Linked DNA regions of Homo sapiens: region 1 is linked to region 2. Evidence: promoter capture Hi-C in human tissues and cell types (Jung and others, 2019). All regions are on one chromosome and are shown on one strand. The core of a region is centred on a gene start or on the middle of the fragment in contact, and the rest is flanking DNA. Distances in the headings are between cores, read along the strand shown. Region 1 overlaps SPATA6 (spermatogenesis associated 6). Region 2 holds the start of SPATA6 (spermatogenesis associated 6).

The links. The method cuts DNA at HindIII sites, captures the fragments that hold promoters and counts their contacts. A contact is called where the count stands out against the background at its distance.
Region 1: a fragment that was not itself captured here is called in contact with the fragment with the promoter of SPATA6 in region 2 in 1 of the 25 tissues and cell types used here (IMR-90 fibroblasts).

What each region holds. Positions count from the first base shown.
Region 1 is chr1:48,298,689-48,301,398 of GRCh38, forward strand. SPATA6 (spermatogenesis associated 6) reads right to left here. Exons shown (of 13, transcript NM_019073.4): 13 at 1-205. The coding sequence ends at 25. Among named protein-coding and RNA genes, the nearest start is that of SLC5A9, 77 kb to the left of the region's middle. The HindIII fragment of the contact is 3,207 bases long and covers 1-2,710 here.
Region 2 is chr1:48,470,873-48,473,613 of GRCh38, forward strand. It overlaps SPATA6 (spermatogenesis associated 6), which reads right to left and starts at 1,332. Exons shown (of 13, transcript NM_019073.4): 1 at 1,086-1,332. The coding sequence starts at 1,136. LOC124904175 (a long non-coding RNA gene) reads left to right here. Exons shown (of 2, transcript XR_007066074.1): 1 at 1-80. RefSeq lists a silencer at 1,014-1,403 and an enhancer at 1,614-1,663. The HindIII fragment of the contact is 25,705 bases long and covers 1-2,741 here.

The DNA of each region.
Region 1 (2,710 bases), core at 1-2,500, 170 kb before region 2:
TAATGAGGTTTATCATGGATGGTCTCAGAAGCTTTCCTGTGTATGTGAAGCAGAACTACAGGCCTTTTTGTATAAGTTCCTGTACATCTTGTCCATGCTGTTCTCAAAGATGGGTCGGTGGGATTTTCCCTTATAAGAGGCTGCCCTGTTGGACCAGTATTCACCGTCATCCAAATGGAAAGTGCCACGTGGCTGCTGACATGAGCTATAAAAAGGGATATAAAAGGTTCAAAACAATAATGAAACAAAATTAGAGATAGTACTATGTAAATCAAATATTTATTGAGTACTCTATGGCTATTTAATTCTCTGCTGGGGCTGTGAAAAATAAAACAGAGTAAGGCCTGTGCTTTCAAAGAGGGACATTTTAAAAGGGGAGGCAGAAGTATCTGTGTAAAACTGTTATAAAACAGTAAAATGAAAATTTTGTGTTAGAGTGAAAAAGGAATTCAGAGAACAGACACAGGTACAGCATAATAAAAGCAGAACATAATAAAAGCAGTTCTTATACTGGCCTGGTATGGCCAGTATAAGAATGCACAGCCCAAGGCACAGTGGCTCACGCCTATAATCCCAGCACTTTGGGAGGCTGAGACGAGCAAATCACCTGAGGTCGGGAGTTCGAGACTAGCCAGACCAACATGGAGAAACCCCATATCTACTAAAAAATACAAAATTAGCTGAGGATGGTGGCGCTTGCCTATAATCCCAGCTACTCGGGAGGCTGAGGAAGAAGAATCACTTGAAACCGGGAGGCAGAGGTTGCAGTGAGCTGAGATCACGCCATTGCACCCCAGCCTGGACAACAAGAGCAAAACTCCGTCTCGGAAAAAAAAAAAAAAAAAAAAAGAATGCATAGTTGCTAAAAGTCAGGCATACCTGAAACTGAATTCCAGCTCAGTCCTTTATAAGCTGTGAGACCTTGGGCAATTTATTTAACTATCCAGAGTCTCAACTTCCTTAACTTTAGTTTTACAGGATTGTTTTAAAATTTAAACACAGACGTTATTAAATATGAGACACTAAACCAGGTACTTTATATCTATTTATGAATACATTTTACAACACATAGAAGTTGGTAGATATAGAAATGAAGACTCAGTGAAGTTAAGTGACTTGCCTAAGACTGCTCAGCTAGTAAGTGGCAAAATGAAAAAGACAACGTGTGTGCTCTAAGACCCTTTCTACTATGCCATGCTGCTATTGCCCTCAAGGAGTAGAAAATTAGGCTAACTGTGAACATTTGTGGAAAATGGAAACAAGGCAGAAGAGTTTGAAGTGAAAGGATCAACTGTAGTTTTGAGGGTCTTAAGGAAAAAAGAAGGTGGGAGAGAGAGAGAGAGCGAGCGCATGCAAGAGAGCACGCATGTAAGTGAGAGGAAGCCCATAGGAAGCTAATGAAATAGACTAAGACTGGGCTAGCTGTGATGAAGATAGAAAAGAAAAGGTAACTCTTTCTTAAGGATTAATAGCACTTTTTATGTTATCAGTGTTATAATTTTACTAACATAAATTCCGGAATTACATTTTTTATGGATAAAATGTTGAGTTTATTTTCTTATATAAATAATTGACCTTCTTCAAGGTCAATGAAATACTTTTATAGATTAGACCTTCCAGGCCTGTTAGAGATTGTAAAGTTTCTTCCCAGATACACACAACCTACAAACCAAGATTATACTATGAACAAATACAAAACCTGAACAGACCAATAATGAATAACAATATTGAAACAGTAATAAAAAGTCTCCTATAAAAGAAAAGCCCTGGATCTCTGGCTTCACTGCTGAATTTTACCAAATATTTAAAGAAGAACTAATAAGAAGTCTACTCAAAATATTACAAAAAATTAAAGATATGAGAAAACCCATTTTATAAGACTAGCATTACCCTGGTACCAAAACCAGACAAAAACAACAACAAAAATAAACTACAGGCTAATATTCCTGATGAACAGATGCAAAAATCCTCAACAGAATATTAGAAAATTGAATTCAAAAACACATGAAAAAGATCATTCACCATGATCAAATGGTATTCATTCCAGGGATGCAAGGATGGTTCATCATGGGCAAATCAATAAATGTGATACATAATATCAACAGAATTAAAACAAAAAAAAAGTATAATCATTTCAATGGGTGCTGAAAAAGCATTCAATACAATTCAACATCCACTCATAATAAAACCCCTCCATAAACTGGGCATGGAAGGAACATACCTCAAAATGATAAGGGCCATATACAACAAACTCACAGCTAATATTATACTGAATGGGAAAAAGATCTGAAACAGGACAAAGATGCCCACTTTCGCCACTTATATTCAACATAGTAATGGAAGTCCTAGCCAGAGCAATTAGGCAAATGAAAGAAATAAAGGGGATCCAAACTGAAAAAGAAGTTAAATTATTCCCTTCCATAGAAAACATGATGTTTTATTTAGAAAAACATAAAGACTCCACCAAAAAATTAAAATGAATAAACACATTTAGTAAGGTTGCAAAATAAAAAATTAACATGCAATAATCAACATTTCTATATTCCAACAGTAAACAATCTGCAACAGAGATCAAGAAAGCAATCCCATTTCCAATACTAAAAGAAAAAAAAAAGCCAGAAAAGTGAAAGACTGCTATGACAAAAACTATAAAACACTGATGAAAGAAACTGGAGAACACAAGAAAATGGAAAGATATTCCATGTTCATG
Region 2 (2,741 bases), core at 82-2,581:
GCAATATACATAAGAAGACTTACTGAGTAAGAAGGAGCGAAGAGACCGAATGGTGAATTTTGGTTCCAAACTCCGTACAGGTCTGTGCCTGCAGGACTAAAACGGGGTGTGGAAAGGGTCTTGTGGAGATTTCCTCCAGAACAGACAAGCGGGAGTATTCCTCTAAACAGGGGAATGAGAGGGTTCTCTAAAGAATGCAGGGGAAGAAGTTCAAAACCCTTGGAAGTCTTCTGAGATCAACAAGGGGAATAGAGTTTTCTCCTAGCATGGAGAGGTCCAGCCCCTTCACTGGATGAGTGGGGTTCTCTGCCCCAGCTGGACTTCCACAGGAGGATGGAGGAAAGCATCCTCTTGAGCAAGTCTGGAGAGTGAAGGGGTGGGGTTGCAAGGTTGGAGAAGGAGGTGTTTCCCTCATAAAAATGACTGGGCCTTTCTTGCAATGGCTGGCACAAAGTCGGAAGGGTCTGGGGACGGGAGGGGCCTGAAGTGATTTCTGAGGAGTTGGGTTTTTCCTGTAAGGCCCTGGGAGGGAAGGCAAGGTACTTTGCGCAATGACACATTTCAGTTGTTGGATGTGAAGATTCTCCTTCGAAGACAGAATAAAGAAAGGCCCCTTCATTAATGCGGGTTTGAAACTGGTCTGAAATGGTGTGCCTGCAGGGATTCGGGAGGAAATGCGACGCCCACCCCCAGACTTGGGAAAGGCGGGGGCAATAATTCTCTAAGAGAACTGGAGCCCGAAAGAGGAATGAAAAGCCCCCGCGCCGCGCACATACACTCTCTCTCACTGGAAAGTTAGGAGCGAGGAAAGAACTCTGAAGTGATTTGGGAACGATCTGAAAGCGCGCAAGTTGGAAGTCGGGTTGAAGCCAGCATAGCGGAGCAGGGGTCAGGCCTCTGCGTGGCCGGAGTGGGAGAGCGCTTCTGAGAACAAGATGGGGCAGGACCGAAGGGGCGTGAGGTCGACGCTCCCTAGGGATGATTCGGAGGGTGAAGGAGGTTTGGGGGTGGTTCCGGGCTCTCGGAGGTGACTGAGGGAGTCCCTGAGCCAATGCCCGGGGGTGGGAGGCGCTACCGGTACTCACTGAGCTGATCTCCAGCGCCAGGGCGCACTGCAGCGCCTTCACCTTCGGCATCCGTGCGGGGAGGGGCGGCGGGGAGTGACCCCGGCCACGGGCCCGAGTGAGGCGGGGAGACCTGGGGCTGGGCGGGGACGGGGAGGAGACGAGGTGGCGGCGGCGGTGGCAGCAGTGGCCCCCAGGCCGGGGCCCGCGGTCCAGCCTGGGTTCCGCCGGAGAAGCAGCTGAGCGCGGGGCGCAGACTCGTTGTCATGGCAGCCAGGAGGGGCGGGGCCGGAAGAGAGGCCGCGCGGGGCACTCCAGGGCTACCCGCGCTGGGACGAGCGCTGGAGGCGGAGCTTGACGAACGCCGAGCGAGGCGGAGTCGGGCAGGGGGCGGGGCTTCCGAAGGGGCGGGGTGAGGCAAGGCAGCTCTTCTGTGACGTCAAACTGCGCCCAAAGCCGGACGAAAGGGAGCTGCTGTTTGTATAATGGGACGGTGCTCTGTTCAGGGAGTTGGAGTTCCTGTAAGGCCGTCGGAGGGAACCCCTGAGTTACAACGTGGTGATGGCACCTTGGGCTAGTGGCGACCCACTGTGGCCTCAGTTTTCCCAATTGTAAAAGAATAATAATTATTGTTAGTCCTCCTATTTAAATTTCACGGCACGGTTTACAAAGCCAGCATAAGGATACTGGGAATTAGGGAAGAGACTTGCCCAAATCAAAGTCGGAACCAGGACTGGAACCCAGGAGCTCTCAAGTTAAACCCCAGTTGCCTCCCTGAGGAGAGGGGCTTGCATCAGATGGTCCATACTCCTAGTCTCCTATTCTGTGATTCCCTTTGTTAGCGCGTTCCCTTTTCCCTTCAAATTTTCCTGTCTAATTCACCCATGTATGCGTCTTAATGCATATTGCTTAAGTGGAACTGTCAATGAGGTGCCAACAATAAGTCCAGCTGTGAAGGGCCTGACAATAGACCATCAAAGATAAAAAGAACCTAAGAGATTGCCCAATCCAATCATGTTAAAAATCATTTGTATTGCAAAATACATTATACATGCAGAAGTGTATAAAACACGTTTATCTTAATAATAATGTGAACAGTACCTGTACAACTAGCACCCGGTTAAGAAATAAAACATTACCAGCACCTGAAAAATGCCCCCAACGATTACATTGCCTTTCTCGCCCTGGAGTAACCACTACCCTGACTTTTGTACAATAATTCTCTTCCTTTTGCCATTCATGTATGCATTTCTAAACAAGATATTGTTTAATGTTTTCCGGTATTGATAGTATATAAATGGTATTAATACTGTATGTATTCTTCTGTGATTTGCTTCTCCCACTTAATATTATGCCACCGGTGATGCTGTGTAGCTGAAGTTTTTTCCATTGCTGGACAGTATTCCAATATAGATTGATTTATCCTTCCTACTATCAATGATCACTTACACTGTTTTCATTTTTAGCTATTATTAACAATGTTGTGAACATTGTAGTACAAGTCTGTGTCTATTAATGCACATGTACTAGCGTAGGAGTGGGTTAGCTGGGTATTAGGGTTTTGCACATGTGGGTCTTTAAAAAGTAAGACCACACCATTTTCCAAAGTAGTGTACCTATTTATGTTTCTGGTGCTTATGTATAAGAGTTCTTATTTTTCCACATCATCAGCAACAT